Regions from separate parts of the Homo sapiens genome. Here regions 1, 3, 4, 5, 6 and 7 are each linked to region 2. Evidence: promoter capture Hi-C in 16 types of primary human blood cells and fetal thymus (Javierre and others, 2016). All regions are on one chromosome and are shown on one strand. The core of a region is centred on a gene start or on the middle of the fragment in contact, and the rest is flanking DNA. Distances in the headings are between cores, read along the strand shown. Region 1 overlaps IBTK (inhibitor of Bruton tyrosine kinase). Region 2 holds the start of SNX14 (sorting nexin 14). Region 3 has its middle 3.7 kb from the start of IBTK. Region 4 has its middle 5.5 kb from the start of RNGTT. Region 5 overlaps RNGTT (RNA guanylyltransferase and 5'-phosphatase). Region 6 overlaps IBTK (inhibitor of Bruton tyrosine kinase). Region 7 overlaps PNRC1 (proline rich nuclear receptor coactivator 1).

The links. Contacts are between HindIII fragments. The CHiCAGO score rates a contact against its expected background, and 5 or more counts as called.
Region 1: a contact is called between a fragment that was not itself captured here and the fragment with the promoter of SNX14 in region 2, in 4 of 17 cell types (M2 macrophages, non-activated CD4 T cells, total CD8 T cells and 1 more). The highest score is 13.6, in M2 macrophages.
Region 3: a contact is called between a fragment that was not itself captured here and the fragment with the promoter of SNX14 in region 2, in 6 of 17 cell types (total B cells, total CD8 T cells, naive CD8 T cells and 3 more). The highest score is 14.7, in total B cells.
Region 4: a contact is called between a fragment that was not itself captured here and the fragment with the promoter of SNX14 in region 2, in 1 of 17 cell types (monocytes). The highest score is 6.2, in monocytes.
Region 5: a contact is called between a fragment that was not itself captured here and the fragment with the promoter of SNX14 in region 2, in 1 of 17 cell types (non-activated CD4 T cells). The highest score is 14.2, in non-activated CD4 T cells.
Region 6: a fragment that was not itself captured here is called in contact with the fragment with the promoter of SNX14 in region 2 in 5 of 17 cell types (M1 macrophages, M2 macrophages, total B cells and 2 more); the score reaches 12.3 in M1 macrophages.
Region 7: a fragment that was not itself captured here is called in contact with the fragment with the promoter of SNX14 in region 2 in 7 of 17 cell types (non-activated CD4 T cells, total B cells, naive CD8 T cells and 4 more); the score reaches 22.7 in non-activated CD4 T cells.

The regions. Positions count from the first base shown.
Region 1 is chr6:82,228,969-82,232,421 of GRCh38, reverse strand. It overlaps IBTK (inhibitor of Bruton tyrosine kinase), which reads left to right. Exons shown (of 29, transcript NM_015525.4): 4 at 580-704. Among named protein-coding and RNA genes, the nearest start is that of IBTK, 17 kb to the left of the region's middle. The HindIII fragment of the contact is 1,716 bases long and covers 986-2,701 here.
Region 2 is chr6:85,592,200-85,595,261 of GRCh38, reverse strand. It overlaps SNX14 (sorting nexin 14), which reads left to right and starts at 1,404. Exons shown (of 29, transcript NM_153816.6): 1 at 1,404-1,683. The coding sequence starts at 1,544. RefSeq lists enhancers at 1,112-1,231, 1,542-1,711, 1,160-1,743, 1,744-2,327, 2,328-2,913 and a silencer at 1,262-1,481. The HindIII fragment of the contact is 2,215 bases long and covers 1-2,141 here.
Region 3 is chr6:82,249,752-82,253,126 of GRCh38, reverse strand. No RefSeq gene overlaps it. Among named protein-coding and RNA genes, the nearest start is that of IBTK, 3.7 kb to the right of the region's middle. The HindIII fragment of the contact is 4,001 bases long and covers 1-3,375 here.
Region 4 is chr6:88,967,591-88,970,652 of GRCh38, reverse strand. No RefSeq gene overlaps it. Among named protein-coding and RNA genes, the nearest start is that of RNGTT, 5.5 kb to the right of the region's middle. The HindIII fragment of the contact is 4,896 bases long and covers 1-3,062 here.
Region 5 is chr6:88,950,892-88,954,151 of GRCh38, reverse strand. All of the region lies in intron 1 of RNGTT (RNA guanylyltransferase and 5'-phosphatase), which reads left to right. Among named protein-coding and RNA genes, the nearest start is that of RNGTT, 11 kb to the left of the region's middle. The HindIII fragment of the contact is 1,522 bases long and covers 761-2,282 here.
Region 6 is chr6:82,189,145-82,192,434 of GRCh38, reverse strand. IBTK (inhibitor of Bruton tyrosine kinase) reads left to right here. Exons shown (of 29, transcript NM_015525.4): 24 at 556-648; 25 at 1,219-1,362. Among named protein-coding and RNA genes, the nearest start is that of IBTK, 57 kb to the left of the region's middle. The HindIII fragment of the contact is 2,484 bases long and covers 154-2,637 here.
Region 7 is chr6:89,083,165-89,086,414 of GRCh38, reverse strand. It overlaps PNRC1 (proline rich nuclear receptor coactivator 1), which reads right to left. Exons shown (of 2, transcript NM_006813.3): 2 at 1,255-2,662. The coding sequence ends at 2,219. Among named protein-coding and RNA genes, the nearest start is that of PNRC1, 4.0 kb to the right of the region's middle. RefSeq lists enhancers at 854-1,380, 1,381-1,908. The HindIII fragment of the contact is 4,237 bases long and covers 1-3,250 here.

The DNA of each region.
Region 1 (3,453 bases), core at 594-3,093, 3.4 Mb after region 2:
ACTAGTGTGATTTTGTGTCTATGAAAAACAAAGTATTGAAAGTTAGTGTTCCTGTACAAAGAGTAATATCACATTTGCAACATTTAGAACCTTTGTATGTGTGGATTAATAATATCTTACATTTGATACAGTTCTATATATTATTTTCATGGAAACTAAGTAGATATGGCCGGTGGTGTTTTACTCATTTGGCAGTTAAACTTTAGCTGCTAAAGAAACAAGAAACAGCCTGGGCAGAGTGGCTTATGCCTGTAATCCTAGCACTTTGGGGGGCCGAGGTGGGAGGATCACTTGAGCCCGTGAGGTGAAGACCAGTCTGGGCAACATAATGAGACCTTGTCTCAATTATTAAAAAAAAACAACAACAAAAAAAAAAGAAGCAAGGAACAAATGTTTGATTGCTTGCATTGAGACAGGCCTGTACTATGATTTGGATTTTCTATTTCTAGAATTACCTAATATCATATTAATATATTCATTCAGAGAAGAGCGTTGGCATCTTTCTAAATATTGTAGTTAAATTAGTTCTTATATGTGTTTTAAAATATAAAAAAGTATAAAAACTAATTTTTATTTTAGATCCTACAGATGTTTATACTTGGGGCGATAATACAAATTTTACCCTGGGTCATGGAAGCCAGAATAGCAAACATCATCCAGAGTTGGTGGATCTGTTCTCCAGGAGTGGGATTTATATCAAGCAGGTATTTTTGAAGTACAATCTATATACTTTTAGAGATGAGAAAGAACTTTTGTATTTGATTGTTCAGCTTTTCATGTGGATTACATAACTTTGTTTCAGGTACAGTAACATTTTAATGAGGAAATCAATCAATAGAACTTTGCTAATTTTATTTTAGATATTGTTAGCCTTAATTATATTTAGACTTTGTAAAATACCCTAAAATATAAGATATTTGTGCAATTAGTGTTAGAAATTAGAAAATGTTATACAGATAGTAGTTTAATTTAAGAGGGTAAAGCTTCTCTTGATTTTCTAGCTTTTCTATTTAACAAACATTACAATTCTGTAAGCTGTTTCTCAAGTGAATTTGTTGTTGAAGCTCAGTGTTATTTTTGATAAGTGAACAACAGTTCTTTTTTTTTTGGTGGCATTAAAAAATAAAATAATTTCAATTTAGAAAACAACACACTTCTTGCAATTTTTTGTAACAAAATAATGTTTTTAGGTTCCAAGCTATTTATCATGAAGAGAATATGTTTAATCTTATGTGAAGTTGGATGACAGCAGTCTGGAAAGGCTATAGAGTTTTTTAACTGAGGGTCTGGTAAACTGCCAGTCATTCTATTTAATTATTTGTATTCACACTGACAAGCAATAAATAATTAAATGTCTAAGTCTCAGTTCTCAGTTTGGATAGTAGATAGAACTAAAATTTCATCACTTATGGAGACAGATAAGCAATGTTTTGGAAGTGTGGGGTTCAAAAATTTGCCCTTAGATGCTTAGGCACGAGTGATGCTTTTTGTGAACCTGAGTTCTTAAATGTAAGTAATTGTAAAATTTTAATAGATACAATTGTAAAGATTTGGTCTGTGGTCTTATATCCTTACAATGCATGATATCTTCTACTTCCCCAGATACAGCTACTGTTGACAAATCTTTCTGTATTACATTGTGTATATGTGTGTATGTATGTGTATCTCTAGCCCCAGTCTTTCTCTTGAACTTTATTTCAGTTGTACTGTGGGTATTCTTTCAAGATATTTAAATTTAGAATGTCTGAAGTGTTATTTTTGCCACTCCTAAACTACCCTATTCAATTTTTAATGTTATAAATCTCAAATTCTAAATCCTGAAGATGATACCTCAGAGCATGTCTATTTAGTTCTTTTCTGTCTCATGAACCTAGGTGCCATGTCCTTTTCAAGCTCTTTTTTTGGACAGTGACAACAGTGTCCTAATTTGACTTTTTGGCTCCATTCATTTCAACCCCAATAATATTCTTCTCCAGAATTATTTGTCTTAAAAAAGAGCTAATTATGTGTTTATCTACTAAGTCACCTTTGGATAAAGTCCAAACTCTGTGGCTTGGAATGTAAGAACTTTTTCAGTCTTCCTAAATTACCATTTCAACTTACATTTCCTACAACTTCCTAGTTATATTCTTTCTGCATTTTGAAGTTCATAAAACTTCTTTGATCCAGAATATGAGCTTGGAGTGTTTTTATCACTATAGTACTGGCTCTTTCCAACTTTCACCTATTATTTATATATGACATACATAACAACACTTAGTTTATATCCTGAGATTGAATTCTTAGACAGTTTTTAGAGCTACTTTGACAACATATCCCTAGTTTGCCCAGGACAGTTCTGGTTTATGATTATTTTCCTAGTGTAATTGTTAGTATCCCCTTTCATTCTCAAAAATGTTTGCATGATAAATAATATGACCACTATATTTAGGGCTCCATAGAACACTATTTTTTAAACTAAAAGTCACAACCTAATGCATCACAACCAGCAATTGAACAAAAAAAGCAATAGAATCCTTAAACTCTAGAGAATATTAAATTTTGAGAGAACAGGAATAAAAACCCATATAGGAATGAAAAGTGGCTAGAGAAGTAGGGAGTAGAATGGTGTCATGAAAGCTAATATTCTTGTGGGTCTTCTCTGTAGATGTGGAGGGAACTTAGGATAATGAAAGGACTTGTGATGGGCGAGAATCAAGCTTGGTGTCCAAGTCTTTAGTGAATGTGAGAGGGGTGAGCAAGATGGTGAGAAATCAGAGCAGGGGCAGCAAGTGTACAAGCTGCTCACCTAGTCTAGAGCTTTTTGCAGACATGCTAGTCAGTTTTTTTTTTCTCATGCTGAGCTTGAGTGGGTCCTCAGACTCCTCCTTAAAATGATAATCCAACCATTAGCAGCCACTAATGATTGATTGGAATTGTGGCACAAGAAAGACACCTGTTTTTCCTTTTTTGAGGTAGTACATGATATACCTTTATTTCATGAGCTGTTACGGAGCAGGGATTTTAAAGACAAGAGTGAGGGAATCATGATGGCATTAGGAAATCAGAGGGTGATTGAAATGTCTGATCCAAAGAAATATATAGTTTGGAATATTTGAGCATATTCCATTTGCCAGGGTTGTGAGTGAACTAGTGTACTCAAAGAGAAAGCCACATTTCAGGTAAGGCAAGGCAGTGGGCGTGTTTTGTGAAGGTATTAAGGATCTAAGGGATTTTATTTACCACAGAATGAGGGTGAAGCAAGCACAGTGGGTAGGTTTGAAGGAAAGAAATCAGTATAAATTTCAGTCAGGGAAGAGAAAGCAAGTATGGGAATATTAATTGAGTACCAGTTATATAGAGAGCCCCATTTGTTATTGAAAAGGGGCTGATTCTATATTATACAGTACCAAATTAATTAACTACCATGAGACAGAGATTATTAATGTTAGTATTATATATTCCAGATAATTA
Region 2 (3,062 bases), core at 155-2,654:
AATAATAGCTAATCGTGAGGATCAGTGAAATTGTTTACTTTTATACACCACTGTGGAGTTGGTACCACCATTCTACAAAGCAGTTTGACTGTATCAAGAATGTTTGTTTTTACCCTTTGACCCAGTAATTGTATTAAAGTTGATTCTAAATAATTAGAAATGTGCATAGGTTTATCATCAAGGATGGTAATATCAATGGACTTTAGTGGTTAGCAATAATGGAACAGGATGGTACATTCTGATAAAGGATAATAATGCATCATTAAAGATCCATGTTTTTGTAATACGGGAAAATATTCATGAAACTACATACATCATTAAAAAACATTTGTTTCCCCACTTTGAAGGATAAGATCCTAGGAAAGAGAGATGACAGGCACAGGCTCTGTCTTTAGAACGTGTTCAAATTCCGGCTTTGTTAGTTTTATGATCCTAAGTTCCTTTCTGTCTCAGTAATTTGCCTGTATAATGATTGAAACTATAGTACTGTACCTACACCATGGGGTGAATGCATGAAGGTCAAATGAAAGTGCTTAGTGTCTGTACCGCCTAAGTAAATTTTCGCGATAATAGTCTTCCTGCATCTCTCACTGTAGCGGACAATACAGAAAAAAAAATTTAGAAATGTGATGAATTAGTAAAGGGAAAACCCCATGAGACTCTATAAGAGGGATTTTACCTAATCTGCCAACCTGCCTCTTCCAAGCACTCGGATTTTGGTTGGGCTCCCGGAGCCGGCGTGAATTGAGCTCTACCCTTGCCCGTGAGCGCGCAAAAGAGATTTTGTTGGTGGGGTGGCGGCCTGATGAGTTGTAGTCTTTATTCTAGGGCTGTTTTACTCGCCACCCCCCCAGCCCCCAACACACCCCTTTTAAAATACCGACTCAAAGGCGTCCTCCTATCCCCCTCTCCCTTAGGCGTCACGCAAAGCTCGGACCTGCTCCCACCCGGAGCCGAGTGTACGGTGAGGCGCGGAGCGTTGCGGGGTCGGGGAAGCGCTACCACCCGCTCCATCCCTCTGCGGGTTCGTGTCACGAAGACTACAGTTCCCAGCGGGCTCCACGAGCTCCGGTTGCCCCTCAGGCAGCGCCCGGCGGCTACGGGGGTGCTGTAGTTTCTTCCGGGCTCCCTACAACCTTCTTCCCTCTCCTCCGCAATACAGGCAGTTACTGGGTGCTGGGGCTGTCCTTTGATTTCCGGAAATGGCCGGTCGCCAGTGTTGTCAGAGTTTCCACGGAAGACTGCGCGCTACTCCGGCCAGGAGGGCGGAGCGGCGAGACGCTAGAGGCTTTGCGCTGGGTGACGACTTCGGGCACGTTCTACGGCCGTTCCTCTGGTCGGCTGGGGACCGCGGCCGCGCACGCGCGGCGGGGGGCGTGGGGCTGGGCCCAGCCGGACGCGACCTCAGCCTGCGGCGGCTAACTGCCGGTAGGCGTCTGTGTGCGCCGCCAAGTCGGTGGGGCGGGGACGCGAGGTGTGGATGGGGGGTCGCCTTGACCTCTGCCTCAGCCAGTAGCGCAGTCTCGGCCTCGCCGTTACGGAGATGGTGCCCTGGGTGCGGACGATGGGGCAGAAGCTGAAGCAGCGGCTGCGACTGGACGTGGGACGCGAGATCTGCCGCCAGTACCCGCTGTTCTGCTTCCTGCTGCTCTGTCTCAGCGCCGCCTCCCTGCTTCTTAACAGGTAACGCCGCAGCGCGGAGCCTGGGCGGCGGCTTTTCTCCGAAGGTGCAGACGCCCGGCCCGTGCTGCTTAACCGTGCGGAGGCCGCGTAGCTGCGGGACTGGGGACCAGTGGGGAGAGCGAGCTCCGCAGAGGAGCGGCCTCGGGGAGCACGGCGGAGCGTCGAGGCCGGAAGCACAGGCCGGTGGGGTGGGGTTGATTGCCTCCTTTCCCGAGGCTTCGTCTCCTGAGCTACCTTTTTCTCATCCATTTCTCAAAACGAGTTCTTCATCTTCGTTGCTTTTCAAAAGTGAAATCCGTGTGTCGGCTCAAATTGAGACTGTACACAGGCAGTCAAGTCAGCTGACGGAGGAGTGTTCAAGGTCCAGTTCGTAGCCGCAATTTTAGGCAGAATCCGCACACCTGCAGCGCGTTCTTCCATCTCCCCACCTCCCACCCCCTCAGCTTGCAGCTGAAGCTTTTCCCGCAGTATTGTTGAATAAAACAGACGATCATAAAGATTTGTTGGACAGAAATCAGAAAGCAAAGTGGTACCCGTCCCAACATCCTTAGAATTTTTTATTTTTGAGACGGAGTCTCGCTCTGTCACCCAGGCTGGAGTGCAGTGGTGCGGTCTCGGCTCACCGCAAGCTCCTCCTCCCGGGTTCACGCCATTCTCCTGCCTCAGCCTCCCGAGTAGCTGGGGCTACAGGCGCCCGCCACCACGCCACCACGCTACCACGCTAATTTTTTTGTATTTTTTTTTTTTTTTTTTAGTAGAGACGGGGTTTCACCGTTTTAGCCAGGATGGTCTCGATCTCCTGACCTCGTGAGCCGCCTGCCTCGGCCTCCCGAAGTGCTGGGATTACAGGCGTGAGCCACCGCACCCGGCCACATCCCTATAATATTCTTAAGAGGACTTGATGCCACCCTCCCCAAAAAAACCTGAAATATTCCGAAAGGTTAAAATTGATAAATTCAATTGACATTTTGAAATCAGAAGATTCTGCCCCCGAAATAAACTTGTTTTACTTCATTTTACTATTTCAAGAAATTGTTGCGATGCAATAGGTAGTAGAGGAGACTTTTCCATTAAAATTAACACCAGATTTGCTTTTGGTGGAAAGAAATCTGAGATAGTTCTCATTGACAGCATCCGCAAGCTGTTTTCTCTGATGTTTTGAACAGGCAACCATTCTTACTCTTTATCTTAAGGTAGTTGATTCCCAAGGATAGCAACAGGGAGGAATGCGCAAGGAATTTGGTAACTTCATTTTTCTCTGGTGTAACCATTATTTGTGACTATGTTGAAGTTAGATTTCTTCCCTAAAAGTGGCCTTGCTTTCTTGTTGATTCTTGGTTTAAATATTATTGAGCTTAAATAGTAGTTGATGTTTTACT
Region 3 (3,375 bases), core at 657-3,156, 3.3 Mb after region 2:
AAGAAGGGCAGGAGAAGGTCAGAGGCCTGTTCCTGAGGTCTAACATACCCAACTTTATAACAAATGACTGTAACAAGGGCTATGGGAGTTATGAGCCAAGAGCTGTGGATGAAAACCTATATATATATCACAACACCACAGGCTGTTACTTTTTCCCAATCTAGCCTCTTATCCACTTTTCAAGGACTCTTCATAAGTTCTGGACCTTCAATGGCCAAGGTTCTTGTTTTCCAATGCACTGATAAGTTTAAGTATGTTAAGTATGTTTTCTTTTCTTTTTTTTTTTTTTGAGACAGAGTTTTGCTCTTGTCGCCCAGGCTGCAGTACAGTGGTGTGATCTTGGCTCATTGCAACCTCCATCTCCCTGGTTGAAGTGATTCTCCTGCCTCAACCTCCCGAGTAGCTGGGATTATAGGTGTCTGCCACCATGCCCGGCTAATTTTTGTATTTTTAATAGAGATGGGGTTGTACCATGTTGGCCAGGCTGGTCTCAAACTCCTGACCTTAGGTGATCTGCCTGCCTTGGCCTCCCAAAATGCTAGGATTACAGGTGTGAGCCCCCACACCCGGCCTAAGTATGTCTTTTCTATCAGTCCTAGGGATTTATGGCATGAAGAGAAGGCTCCAACCACTATGTATCAAACTCACTCTTTTTCTTTCTTCTCTCTCTCTCTTTCTAATAGTGACAACACAGATTTAATTATTTAGCTAAGTAGAAAAGGAATAGGAGCAATTCTCAGTAAGATGGGCTGAGAAAGGCAAATGATACATTTTTCAGTCATCGTAAAGGGAAGACTTTTAGGAGTTCAGTGTTCTGATTGTAATAGAATACTAAGCCTGTTAAGTTTATAAGTTTGATTTATCTCAAAGTTCTGCTTATTTCATCTAGGCTTTGAATTTACCTTGAATTTCTCCAGTATTTGCCTTGAATTTCAGATTTTTTTGGTGGACTATGCTTTTAAACATAAGATTCTAAAGTTACATTCAAATACTGCCACCTTGTGGGTTATTCTTTGTTTCCCCATCCCACCCTTTAATTTGGTGGAAACAGATTCATCCAGGCAGTTCATTTCAGGTTATGTCAATTAAGTTGCTAAGAGTTGTACTAAGAGCTTCATATATATAATATATACATTATATTATATATATATATAAAATCTCATTTAAACTTCTTAAGAACTTTATGAAAGCAATACTATTAACCCTATTTCAGAGATGAGGAAACTAGGCTTAGAGGGTTTATGTAACTTGCCTGACATCTCACAGATAGTAAGCATAGGAGTAAAACTTTATATCTGGGCACCTTGCCTCTAGAATCCTTGTCTCCAGGAGTAAAACTAACAAATCTAAAAATAAAACAGTGTGATACATTATATGACTAAGTGATAGAAGCAGTATAAAGGGAATAATTGCTAGGAAAGGCCATCCGGAAAGTCTTCACAGATATGTGGGGAGGTGACCCTCTGTAAGTAAGGATTGGAAAGATAATGATTCTATAGGAAGAACGCAGCTGGGACCATACACCTGAATCCAGAAGAACACAAACACCCTATGTGGCCTATTGTTTTGTCTGCCTCACCCTGCTTTCTTTTGGGGAACTACTCTTCACTCTGCTTTAACCATGACTCTAATAGAGGATGTCAATCATGTTATCCTTGATTCCTCACCTAATCCAAGCCGACATGAGTCCGTCAGGTGCCTAGAACTTTTGTGCTTGAGATAATAGGCTCAGTGCTATCTTCCCTAATGGCAAACCTGAGGTGAGATATGTGATTTATGTGAGGTACTTAATTTGTGTGCCAGAAAGTTGTAGTCAACCAGTGATGTCCTGTAGAAGATGGTGTGGAGTAGAAGAGAATGAGGCTAAACAATAAGGTTCCAGTCATCTCTAGGCCAGCTGCACTATTGATCTTCCTCTAAAAATCATTCTTGTAGAACCTAATCAGGTTTGGGTTTCTAATCAAATTCTAGTGTTTTCTCTTCTGCCACCAGCACTGTCATTTCCTACTCCTATACAACTTGAAAGACAGCAAAATACACATAATGATGTCAGTACTTTTAATTATAAAGGATAGTACTACCAATTTATTTTGGAAAAATGGTATTTAGGGAGTTTATTATAGATGCCATGTGGCTTAGAAATATTTCTGCAGTGCTCCACTCTTGATGCCTGTACTATTCTTTTTCTACTCCCTCCGCCCATCACTGCAATCTTTTTATTTATTTATTTATTTATTGAGACAGAGTCTCGCTCTTTCACCCAGGCCGGAGTGCAGTGGCGCTATCTTGGCCCACTGCAATCTCCACCTCCCAGGTTCACGCCATTCTCCTGCCTCAGCCTCCCGAGTAGCTGGGACTACAGGTGCCCGCCACTGCGCCCGGCTAATTTTTTTTGTATTCTTTAGTAGAGATGGGGTTTCACCGTGTTAGCCAGGATGGTCTCGATCTGCTGACCTCGTGATCTGCCTGCCTCGGCCTCCTGGGATTACAGGCATGAGCCACTGTGCCTGGCCCATCACTGCAATCTTTTAAAGTCATCTCTGGTTTTTTTATTTTTTACTTTAAAAAATAAAACTACTTTAGAAACTCTAGTCAATTATTTTTCCAAACTTTGATTTTTTTAATCATTCAAGTAATATTTAAATTATTGCAATGAAAATTACAAAAGTCAAAATGATAGAAATTAAGAATCACCCATAATCCCACCATAGAAACAATCATTGTAGATATATTTTGACCTATTCTTTCATGTGTAAACACAAAATTTTTTTAAAAATCAAACAAAATGGCTCATTTTGATTTCTTCCTCCCTTAACCACATCTACAATATATTTTTCATTTAATTGTATTTCATTTGTACTATTTCCTAATTATTTTAATATTTTGTCTTGCAAATAACCAGTAAGTACTTTTGAAAGCATCTAACTTTCCTGGGAAAAGGGGAGCAATTCTACATTCCTTTGACTGGAATGTTATTTCTTTCCTGCTTCATCTACTTATCTCCTCGTTATCTAGTTATCTGAGTTATCTTCTGCTCAGTCTTTAGTTCATGTGTCACATCTTTTGGAAGTCAGATAAATCTATCAGATTAATACTTATAAACGTTGCAATTTATTATGCTTGGGAATATCTGGGTCTACATGTATTTTTGTTCACTGTTGGATCCCCAATGCTTACCACAAATTGTCCGAGACCTGGTAATTTTAACTTTTATTTATTACTATTTTTTGAGACAGGATCTCACTCCGGTTGCCTAGGCTGGAGTGCAGTGGCGTTATCTTGACTCGTTGCAGCGGCGTGATCTTGACTCACTGCAGCCTTGATCTCCTAGGGCTCAGGGTATTCTCCCACTTCAGCTTCCTGAGTAGCTGGAAT
Region 4 (3,062 bases), core at 514-3,013, 3.4 Mb before region 2:
TTGGGTTTGTATCCTTAAATACCTGTGAGTTGAGTGATCCTCTCCTTTTAAAGTCCTAAGATAAACTTGGAGCCCCTAGGCCTGTTAGAAAGTGACATTCTTTACTGACCACAGGTCAGGAACCCTGTACAGGGACTGCGTAGACAAGGATATGAGGCCATTTTTTTTTCCCCAAGGGGCTTTTATTGGCTCTGCAAGTTGAGACTGACTCCTGAAAGAGAAGCATACCCTTCAGTCAAAGCCTTGGTAGAATAACCAGTTTCTCCAACTGTGTCCTGTTGCAAAAGAAAAATGGATTCTTACTGCGCTGATGCAAACAACTATATTGCCATAAGTTAAGAATACTCACAGATAGTTTCCAAATTCTGGAGAAGCCAGGCAGAGAGACAAATATGCTCCAATGTTGCGGGAAGTCAGGGACCCCGAACAGAGGGACTGGCTGGAGCCGCAGTACAGGAACATAAATTGTGAAGATTTCATTTTAATATGGACATATATCGGTTCCCAAAATTAATACTTTTATAATTTCTTATGCCTGTCTTTACTTCAATCTCTGAACATAAACTGTGAAGATTTCATTTTAATATGGACATTTATCACTTCCCTAATAAAACTCTTATAATTTCTTATGCCTGTCTTACTTTAGTCTCTTATTCCTATTATCTTCATAAGCTGAGAATGTACGTCACTTCAAGACCACTATTGTGTCAAACTGTACAAATTGATTGTAAAATGTGTGTTTGAACAATATGAAATCAGTACACCTTGAAAAAGAACAGAATAACAGTGATTTTCAGGGAACAAGGGAAGACACCATAAGGTCTGACTGCCTGCTGGGTAGGGCAGAATAGAGCCATATTTTTCTTCTTGCAGAGAGCCTATAAACGGACAAGCAAGTAGGGAAGATATCGCTGAATTCTTTTCCTAGCAAGGAATATTAATAATTAAGAACCTGGGAAAGGAATACATTCCTGGTGGGAGAAGTCTATAAACAGCTGCTCTGGGAGTGTCTGTCTTATGCAGTTGAGATAAGGACTAAAATATGCCCTGGTCTCCTGCAGTACCCTCAGGCTTACTAGGATTGGGAAACCCTGCCCTGGTAAATTTGAGGTCAGACTGGTTCTCTGCTCTTGAATCCTGTTTTCTGTTGTTTAAGATATTTATCAAGACAATATGTGCACAGCTGAACATAGAACCTTATCAGGAGTTTTTGATTTTGCCCTTTGCCTTGTGGTCTTTGCTTTGCCCTTTGCCTCGTGATATTTATTGGCCTAGAAGCATATGATCTTTGTTCTCCTTTTTGCCCTTTGAAGCATGTGATCTTTGTGACCTACTCCCTGTTCATACACCCCCTCCCCTTTTGAAGTCCTTAATAAAAACCTGCTGGTTTTGCGGCTCAGGTGGGCATCATGGACCTACCGGTATGTGATGTCGCCCCTGGTGGCCCAGCTGTAAAATTCCTCTCTTTGTACTCTTTCTCTTTATTTCTCAGACTGGCCGACACTTAGGGAAAATAGAAAGCACCTTCATTGAAATACTGGGGGTGGGTTCCCCCGATACTCCAAATTTTGTTCACAGGAGTATACCTTACTCAATTATTAAAGGGTGTAAATAGTTCAAAGTAAGTTTCCTTGACTCTGAAAAATAAGGGTCAGCAATATTCTAAGCAAAAGTCAAAAAGATTGCTTCAGCTTTCTGAGTTCAGTCAATTTAGTTCTTGATTTGCTTGATATTCATGAACATTTCAGCTCTTTGTGAGTCTTGTACATTTTTCCTTTTGTTACAATCTCCAAAGTCATCAGAAATTGGTATTTGAGAGCACCTGTTAACGTTCTATAGCTCATTATAAATCATCTTTTGAAAAGGATTAAAACAAGACAACAATTGTCTGTGAATAACAAAATGTCCAGGGTAGTTACAGTTAGAAACACAATTGACAAAGAAGTTTGGTTATCTCAGACATTAGAATTTTAGAAATCCCATACAATTTTGGAACATATATTAGTATTATTCACAATAATATAACCTAAAGAAAACTGGGCCGGGTGCAGTGGCTCATGCCTGTAATCCCAGCACTTTGGGAGGCTGAGGAGGGTAGATCGCCTGAGGTCAGGAGTTCAAGACCAGCCTGGCCAAAATGGCAAAACTCTGTCTCTACTAAAATACAAAAAAATTAGCTGGGCATGGTGGTGGGTGCCTATAATCTCAGCTACTTGGGAGGCTGAGGCAGGAAAATCACTTGAACCTAGGAGGCGGAGGTTGCAGTAAGCTGAGATCGTGTCACTGCACTCCAGCCTGGTTACAGAGTGAGACTCTGTCTCAAAAAAAAAAAAAAAAAAAAAAGAAAAGAAAAAAAGAAAACTGAACATTATTTTGGCAATCCCACATACCTAAACATGTCAACTAATCCTGTTTACATTTCTCTTCTGGACACTCTAGGGTCCTTCTGGAGCCTCTGAAAAGCCAGGTGTCAGGAAAGACAATTTTGAAACTGAAGTTTGATTTTTGGGAAGCCTGTTAAATATGTTAGTGGTTTAAAACACTTGATGTTATGAAATAGAATTCCAGATTTCCATAAATTATTTATTTTGCCAAAATTACTCAGAAATTTTAAAGAAGCAAAAACTTTTTATAACCCTTTACAAATTTTGCTAAAGTGCAGATTAGTGCCTTAAGAAAACTTTGTTGTGCTTTTATTTCAATGCTCAATTTACTTTTGAATTTAGCCAATGTTCACACACAGCATTTCTTTTGCAAGATTAATTTTAACCTTCCAGAACTTGTTTAAACCTTTAGCTTTATCTTACCTAATTTAAAACAATTCCCTAACCCTAGGCAAAAATTTACATTTCCATGCCTTCCATTACCTTTTACTAAAAAACACATTTTACTGTTCTTACACACCTTGCATGTAAATCTATTTTCAGTAGTTTCAATTATACATTATAATGGTAACTCCTAGCAATTTTAACTTTAATGTAAAACCTGGTAAGTTGTTTTAATTGTGTGCCAGGTGCAGCGAAGTTTTGACTCCTTCTAGCATAATTAATGACATGGTTAGT
Region 5 (3,260 bases), core at 272-2,771, 3.4 Mb before region 2:
ATTCAATGTTAATACAGTATTGAGATAAGGTACTGTTCTATTCATAATGCTAGTTGTTGCCTAAATACCTTTTTTTAAAAAAATTCTGTTATCGTTTTATAGGCCCTGTGAAATTTATGCTTTAAGGATGTTCTATTTTGGTGTATTTTGAGGTTTTATTTCAAGGTTTAGAACTCCTTTTAGCATTTCTTGTAGTGTGTCTTTCATTTCTTGTAGTGGCCAATTCTCTCAGCATTTGTTTATCTGAGAAAGACTATCTCTCCTTCATTTATGAAGCCTAGTTTTGCTGAATACAAAATTCTTGGCTGACAGTTATTTTGTTTCAGGAAACTAAAGATGGGACCCCAATCCCTTCTGGCTTGTAAGGTTTCTGCTGAGAAATCAGCTGTTAATCTGTTAGGTTTTCCCTTATAGGTTATCTGAGGCTATTGTGTCACAGCTCTTAAGTTTCTGTCCTTCATCTTGACTTTAGATAACCTGATAACTATGTGCCTAGGTAATGATCTTTTTGTGATGAATTTCCTAGGTGTTCTTTGAACTTCTTGTATTTGGATGTCTAGATCTCTAGCAAGGCCAGGGAACTTTTCCTCAATTATTTCCTCAAATAAGTTTTTCAAACTTTTATGTTTCTCTTCTTCCTCAGGAACACCAGTTATTCTTAGGGTTGGCTGTTTAACATAATCCCACATTTCTTGGAGGCTTTGTTCATTTTTAAAATTTTTTTTCTTTGTTTTTGTCTGATTGGGTTAATTTGAAAGCTTTGTCTTCGAGCTCTGAAGTACTTTCTTCTACTTGTTCTAGTCTATTATTAAAATTTTCCAGTGCATTTTGTATTTCTCTAAGTGTGTCTTTCATTTCCAGAATTTGTGATTGTTTTTTCTTTATGATCTCTATTTCTCTCTGGAGAATTTTTCATCCATATCTTGTATTTTTTAAAATTTCTTTAAGTTGATTTTCACCTTGTTCTGGTATCTCCTTGAATAGCTGAATAATCAACCTTCTGAATTCTTTATCTGGCAATTCAGAAATTTCTTCCTGGTTTGGATCCATTGCTGGGGAGCTAGTATGATTTTTGGGGCGTTTTATAGAACCCTGTTTTATCATATTACCAGAATCACTTTTCTGGTTCCTTCTCGTTTGAGTAGACTGTTTCAGTGGAAAGGTCTGAAACTCAAGGCGTCTGTTCAGATTCTTTTGTCCCACAGGCTGATCCCTTGATGTTGTGCTCTCTCCCTTCCTCTAGGGATGGGGCTTGGGGCTTCCTGAGAGCTGGATTGGTGTGATTGTTATTGCTCTTCTGGTTCTAGTCACACTGTGGAGTTACCAGGCCCTAAGGCTGGTGCTGAAGAATGTCTGCAGAGTCCTGTGATGTAATCCATCTTCAGGTGTCCCAGCCATTGATACCAGCACCTGCTCTGGTAGGGGTGGCAGGGCAGTAAGTAGACTCTGTGAGAGTCCTTGGTTGTAGATATATTTAATGTGTCGGCTTTCTCAAATGCTGGTTATGCTAGTAGTGAAGTTGTCATGTGAACAGACTCAGGACCTCTGGTTAGCCAGGATGTTGCAGGCAGTGGTATATTAGCTGTTATTTTATCTTTCCTGGGAGCAGGATTATTTTGTCATGAGTTGCTGTAATGGCCTGAGTTAGTTGGCTTTCAGCCAGGAGGTGGTGCTTTCAAGAGAGCACTAGCTGTGGTGCTAGTTGGGGGATCTAAGTTTGTCTTAAGTTGGCCAGGGTTAGTATTCTGGTTTCTCAGGCAATAGGTGGGGCATAAAGCTCCCAAGAATTTCTGTCTTTTGTGTTCAGCAACCAGGGCAGGTAGAGAAATACCATCAGGTAGGGGAAGGATTAGGTGGATATGGGCTCAGACTCTCCTTGGGTGGGGCTTGCTGTAGCCACTGTAGGGGATGGGGGGTGGTTCTTGGGCCAACAGGTTATGTTCCAGAGAGGATTATGGCTGCCTCTGCTGTGTCATATAGTTTGCCAGGGAAGTGGGGGATAGCTGGTAATGAAAGGCTTCACCCAGCTCCCATGCAGTTGGTGAGGCTGGTCTTACTTCTGTGGTGCACCCCCTCACTCCTCAGACCTTGCCCCTGAATGTAAGTTTCCCCACTGAGAAAGCGAGCATGGCTTTCAGGCCCTACCCCTCCCTGTCTGCCTCCCTGTCTGCCCACTGGGCAGCTTTTGTGCTCATATCTGCAGCAGTTCCCGTTCATTCCCTGGATTCTGCTTAAGAAAATTCATGCCTGGTCAAAATTATTATGAGTTTCATTTGGAAGCTTTTTTCCCCCCATGACCCTCCCTAATTCTGCTGTCTGCTTTCCCCGAGGGCCCCTGTGAGATGTAGTCAGGAATGGCTTCCCTGGGCTTGAGCTGGAGACTGGGAGTGCCTACAAGGCTCTTCCTGCTGCTGCTTCTACTTTTATATTTCACTCGGCTCTCTAAATCCATTTCAGCTGTAGGTAAGATTAAATCCTTCTCCTGTGATCTGGATTTTCAGATTCCCCAATGGGGAATGTGTGTTCAGAGGCAGGTTTTATCCCCCCTCTCACACTTTGGGAGCTCATGGTTTTTCGCCTGTCTCGTGGAATTTACAGCACTGTCTGGCTTCTTTCAACGGATCTGTTTGGCTGTGGCAAGTTCTTGAAATCAGAGAGCAATGAAGTTTGCTACATAGATTGACTCTTCATGAAAGATTTCTCTGTAGCATTTTAGCCATGGTAGAACTTTCTTTAGCCATGGTAGAACTTTCTTCAGGGGTGGAGTCAATTCTCCCCAACCCTGCTGCTGCTTTATCAATCAAGTTTATGTAATATTCTAAATCCTTTGTTGTCACTTCAGCAATATTCACATCTTAACTGGGGCTAGATTCCATATCAGGAAACCACTTTGCTCATTTGTAAGAAGCAACTCCTCATCTGTTAAAGTTTTATCATGAGATTGCAGCAATTTGGTCACGTCTTCAGGCTCCACTTTAAAAAATGTTTGTATTGGCCAGGTGCGGTGGCTCACACCTATAATCCTAGCACTCTGGGAGGCCGAGGCAGGCGGATCACCTGAGGTCAGGAGTTCAAAACCAGCCTAGCCAACATGGTGAAACTGCATCTCTACTAAAAGTATAAAAATTAGCTGGGCATGGTGGCAGGCACCTGTAAACCCAGCTACTCATGAGGCTGAGGCAGGAGAATCACTCGAACCCGGGAGATGGAGATTGCAGTGAGCCAAGGTCGCGCCACTGTATTTCAGCCTGAGTGACAGA
Region 6 (3,290 bases), core at 146-2,645, 3.4 Mb after region 2:
TTTTGTCATTATGGTATAACTTCCTCTGGTGGGTCTCCAATATTATTTAGTATCCCCAAGTTTTTCTATTAAATGTTTGTTTTTGTTAATATTAAACAGTAGAATGAGTTTTGTTTGTTAAAAATAGAAAGGAAAGAATGTAATTTTCAAGCTTCATTTAACCTAAAGGTAAGAATTTAATTAGAACTTTGGTGAGTTTTTCTGCCTAATTTAGTTAAGAATCTTTCTATTGCTTCACTTTTTTTAAAAAATGTTTTTTTAAATATAGGAATTTCAGTTATATCACAACATTATGACTTTGGATACATATTAGTTGTTATTTGTATATGTGCTATATCACTTAACATTTTGGATATATATTAGTTAATATTTATATATGTGTATATAAAAGTAGCTTTTATTCAAAATATCCTTTATGAAACTGGCTCACAGCTGATAAATCTAAATTATACTCTGATTATTAATCTCACATATCACTTATCATTTCAGTGAAGTTGGGGGTTGGGCTTTATAGGTAAATGAATGCTTTGCAAAGTAACCTTTTATGTCTTTTAGTCCTGTCAGCCCTCCTGTTGTGGATCTCAGAACTATCATGGAAATAGAAGAAAGTAGACAAAAATGTGGAGCTACACCAAAGTCACATTTAGGGTGGGTTGAAAACATTACAAAAGATCATTTCATGTTGTATTTCTGCCCTAAGAATTGGACAGACTTACTGCATCTTTCTTATTATTTTTCTGCATTTGATGTTATAGTTAATTATACATCCTTTTCTGGGCAATTTAGCCTCCATAATATTATTTCTTAAATATGTGCTAAAGATAGAGTTGAGTTGATAATCCAGCTCTTGTAGAATACAGTATTACATCCCAGAAACTTGACTCTAAAATGATCATTGTGGACTATTGGCTACAAAAGCCAAAGAGTTAAGGCTTGTGATGCAAGTTCTTTTTGAAATTTGTGATATGTTGGAGGGCTCATATGTAGCTATTACTTGATCATTGTTAGTATAAACTGATATTTTCATTGTTGAAACTTGTGAGCATTTTGATCCAATAATGGTAAAATAACATGAAATAAATAGAAAACATTATTATTACCAGTAACCTTTATTAAGCAGAAATTAATGTTAATTGATATAATTTCTAGCAAAATGATTTCTCATGGAATTAAACTTTGTCAGAAGAAACCACTGAAACTAATTGGTTTAATTTCTAGCAAAACAGTTTCTCATGGAGTTAAACTTTCTCAGAAGCAACGAAAAATGATTGCATTGACTACCAAGGAAAACAATTCAGGAATGAATAGCATGGAAACAGTTTTATTCACTCCTTCAAAAGCCCCCAAACCAGTGAATGCATGGTATGCTCTTATTTTTATTAAAATTAATATAGATTTGTGCATTTGCTTTTAAGGTAGTACTTGACTTTGGAGTTCCTTCCCACTTCCAGTGTTTCTAAAGTCTTTTCAAGTATTTTATCTCCCCTTCTGTTTTCAAGTTAAAAATTGGAACTTGGGAAACAAACACTTTTTTTGTTGTTGTTTATTTTCTTTTAATTTGGGGTGTTTTGACATACAAGTCATGATGACACACATCATCATACACATCAAAATGTGGATATATTTTTCATATATAGATATAATTTCTTCTTGATATTCTAATTAGATTTTCTTGCTAAAGTGATTTAAAATTTATTTTTATTTTTTATAAGAAATTAAATACATCAGACACATATAAAAAGAAAACTTTATTTATACTACGCTAATTTCTTTGTCCTTCTGCATGCTCCATAAATATCTTTACATGGTTATAATCATAGCTTGTTATTTTTCACTTTTTAAAACACTGCTCCTTACTTAATGTTGTGTTTACATTTTCTCCATTGGAATTTACACATAGTGGCAGCATTGGAATAACCTCCAAAGAGGTCAGATATAATTTTGAGATATGTAAAATAGGTTGTACTCCAGCTTCCGTTCCATCCTTCCTTTTCTTGTAACTTAAAATATCTGGAAACCAATACTGGAGAACTACATGGAGAATGTGAAGCCTTACGAAGAAATCAGTAGAACTCTCTTTCTCTCACAAGGACTGGGGAGGATCTTGGCAGCTACCCATGGTTTAGGGGAATCCTTTCAATGTTTCTAAGGCCACATTATTCTGTTTGTAAGAAGGAATATTTTTCTCAATTAAAATGTTAATTATTTTGAAGAAAGTGGCAAATAATTTTATTCTAAATGTTACCAATGGAACTAAATCAGTGCTTGTTAGGGCTATTAGTAGGTCCAAAGCATGGTTACTGAAAAAGAAAGTAAAATAAGAGGTAAGAACACCCAAGGAAAAGAGAAAAGAGGGTAAAACTGGAGAGGATGAGCTTAGCAGAATTTTAAAATTTATCAGTATTTGTTAAGCACCTTCTAAATGTAAGGGACTGTGCTAGTTTCTGATGATAAGGCAATGAACAAGACAGATTTGACTGTTACCCTTGTAGGGTTTATGATATGACTGCTGCAATACTGAGTTGTGCTTTCTTTAAACAAAGGTATGGAAAATCCAAAAAGGGGGAAAAGTTATTGGAACCACTGTCAAGTACTAAATTGCAGTTTGAGAGAATTAACTAAGCTCATGATGAAGCTTTGGACTTGGTAATATAGCTGTAAGCATGCCATCAATCATTTTCCTTAAGCAAAAAGTGAACGAGTGAAAGTTGTTTCACTTATTTTTTTGGAGGCATATTCCTTAGAGTCCTGTGCTCTTTTGTGATCTGAACCGGGTCTTTTCCAGGCATGCTGAATATCTGTCATCTTGAGATTTTCTTTAACTGTTGTCTTGCAGGTCTTCCCTTCTCTCCAGTGTTTGATCCCCAGTTTTCTTGATCCTGTGGTTTTCTATTTCTTGATACACTCCTTGTTTTGATGTAGCACAACTCCAGTAGGTTTCTGATAAAGGATGTATAAGACATATATTTTTGGAGCTCGTATATTCATGAAAATGTTTTTATTCTAGCCTTCATTCTTCTTGACTGATAGATGGGAACGGGATTCTAAATTGGAAATCATTTGGAGAATTTATTCAATGCCATTTAATTCCTAAATCTTCTTATGTTACCTCCTGTTTTCTTCTCCACTTTTTTTTTCCCTGAAAGTTTACAGGATCTTTTCTTTATCTCTAATGTTCTGAAATTTTACAGTAATGTATCATAATGTAGGTCTTTTTTGATACATCCTGGGTACTTGGGCTCTTTTAATTGGCAACAGCATGTCTTTAAGTTCTAGGGAAATCTTATGTA
Region 7 (3,250 bases), core at 536-3,035, 3.5 Mb before region 2:
GATTCACCTGCCTCAGCCTCCCAAGTAGCTGGAATTACAGGCACCCACCATCACACCCAGCTAATTTTTTGTATTTTTAGTAGAGACAGGGTTTCGCCATGTTGGGCAGGCTGGTTTCGAACTCCTGACCTCAGGTGATCCACCAGCCTCAGCCTCCCAAAGTGCTGGGATTCAGCGTTGTGCATCTTTTTACACCACCATCTGCTCAAACTTTTACCTCACAATTTTTTTCCTTTTTTGTGTGTCAAATACTTATCTTTTAAGGCTCAACTCAATTTTTTTTTTCATTTTTTTGAGATGGAGTCCTGCTCTGTCACCCAGGCTGGAATGCAGTGGCGCGATCTCGACTTACTGTAACCTCCGCCTCCCGAGTTCAAGCAATTTTCTGCCTCAGCCTCCTGAGTAGCTGGGATTACAGGTGCCTGCCACCAAGCCCGACTAATTTTTTTCTATTTTTAGTAGAGACAAGGTTTTACCATCTTGGCCAGGATAGTCTTGAACTCCTGACCTCGTGATCCATCCGCCTCAGCCTCCGTAGGTGCTGGGATTACAGGCGTGAGCCACCATGCCCAGCTCAACTCACTGTTACTTTCTAAGGTGTCAGATTCCCAAAGAGAAAATTTTCTCACCAAAATTAGTCCCTTCACCCTAAGAGACTTTACCTTTTTCTCTCTTCAGGCATTTGTTGTTGTAGAGTGGGGAATATAGCTTGTATTTTAGTTATATTTGTCTTTTCTCCCCATCCCACCTAAACTTTCAGCTCTGCCATTTATCCTTCTATTTCCTGAACATACGTTACACATAAGCCCTCACACATTAAACTGCAGACATACTGCTCAAAATGACAAGAGCTGAGAAATGTTGGACAAGGAAAGAAGGGTGGTTGAGGCGGTAGGACTTATATTACATTGTGTAGGAATTTTTATAACCATGTGCAAAAATGTGTTGTTAAAACCTGTTAATGTGTCCCTTTCTAGAATCACAAACTGATTTGGGAGAGATGTCAGAACTCACTGTAGTCAGTCATTAGTATTAATATTTACAACACATTACTAACAAAAGCTAAAATTGGTGACTAAAAATTGGGGGCATCTTCAAACTAAACTTCTAAATGAGCTTCCCTTCCATTTGTGAGGAAGGTGTATCTGCATTTGTAAGGAAGGAATGGTGACTCACACAAAACATCAAACAGAAGTTCCTTTGTATATTCGATCTTCTTTACTTGACCTGATTGCTTAACATTCCCACTCAAAATCTGTCTCCCTTACTTTCTCTTGGCCTTTTTTTTGAGACAGCGTCTGTTACCCAGGCTGGAGTGCAGTGGCCTGATCCTAGCTCAATTGCAATCTCCACTTCTCAGGCTCAAGAGATGCTCCCGTCTCAGCCTCTAGAGTAGTCAAGTACTATGCTCAAAAACCTCAATGCTGCTCCTGGTAAGAAAATGTAGATTATGGCCAGGCATGGCGGCTCACACTCAGCCAGTAAAGTAGAAGTCAAAAAAATCCAACCACACAAAATCATCTCCTAGTCACACATTCAAACATGAGAAACAGTCACACACAAAGAGTCAAGACTATTTTAAAAGGGGGGGCCAAATTATTATTATTTTAAAATTTGATTACAACCAATTTTGTTGGCATTAAAATTAGAGGCATTAAGCTGGAATGGATATATACCAAAACCAGAAATTGAGTTTAGCAAAAATGGGAATAGGAGTTGTTCAGTAATTTCAGATTACAAATCAATTTAGAGAAACAAACCCCATGCTTACATTGATTGTGCCACAGATTTAAACTTCAGTAGTGCATTAGTAAACTGTTCACATTTAGATCTTCACCTTGAGATTTGACAGCTGTTTCTTGAAAAAAATCTCAGTACCTTGTGCAAATAAAATCGGTCTTCCATGTGCCTTAGCACACACTTAAAATTTATCCATTGTATATATACAAAACACCTGCAATGTGGGCAGGGCAAAATACATACTTTCATAACAAAACTATAATATACCTCTCAAGTATGAACAATATACACATAATACATGGTATACAGTATTTACAAAATATAAAATATAATACAAGCTGTTTGTATGTAATTTTTTAAACTCATCTTTTGCAATTGTATGTTGCAACAAGGCAAATTTCCATTTCTGTACCAATTTTCTCAAGAGTCCAGGGATATGGGAAAAATTATGTTTTACACACATACTGAAATCTGAAATCTAAGTTTGAACTTTGAGGAGCGTTTTTAAGTGTACTGCCATCAGCTCCCTGTTTTGGTTGGAATTTTCAACAGTGCTTCCCATCCAGTGACTAGGAGGCTTTGGAAGAACACTAGGAGAAGGTGGATCACTAAACTTTGCCCCAGCATAATTTTCCTTTTGGCTCACTTCAGTTAGAAATGCTGATTTCTTCAAATGCGAATTTTTAATGTTCTCGGTATTTTTAAAAGGCTTTTTTTCCTGCTTCTGAATTCTGTCAGATGAAACAGAATCCTGCCAAAAGTTGTTTTCATTTCTTTTTGCAGAGGTGATCTTGGTTAGTGGCAAGTTATATTTGCTTTTCTGTCTGTTTATCTTTGGTTGCTCATACAAGTGTATACCATGAACAAGCTGGCCATGGGGAAGGGCAATTTTCTCCGATTTTCCCATCTTTGATTTTAAAACCTACAAAGACAAGAACACAAAAGTAAATATAGTTTCTAGATAAAAATCAGTTATGAACCTCATATCACATATCTAGTTTTGTTGTGTTTAAGTTTGCCCACAGCCATAGAAAAGAACAAAATTATGTTCTTTGTGACAACACGTATGTAGCTGGGGGCCATTACCCTAGACGAATTAATGCAGAAACAGAAAACCAAATATCGCAAGTTCTCACTTACAAGTGAATTTGGGAGCTAAACACTGGGTACAACATGGATATAGTGGGGAACAACAACAGACACTAGGCACTACTAGAAGGGGGGTTGAGAGAGAGATGGGGACCTACTGGGTACTATGCTCACTACCTGGAATGGGATCATTCATACTCCAAACCTCAGCATCACGAAATATACCCATGTAGCAAACCTGCACAAGTACCTCCTTGATCTAAAATAAAAGCTGAAAATTACAAAAACTTTAATTGGGCATGGTGGCTCACGCCTGTAATCCCAGCACTTTGGGAGGTCAAGGCAAGCAGATCGCTCAAGCTCAAGGAGTTCGAGACCAGCCTGGGCAACATAGCGAAACCCCATGTCTACTACAAATATA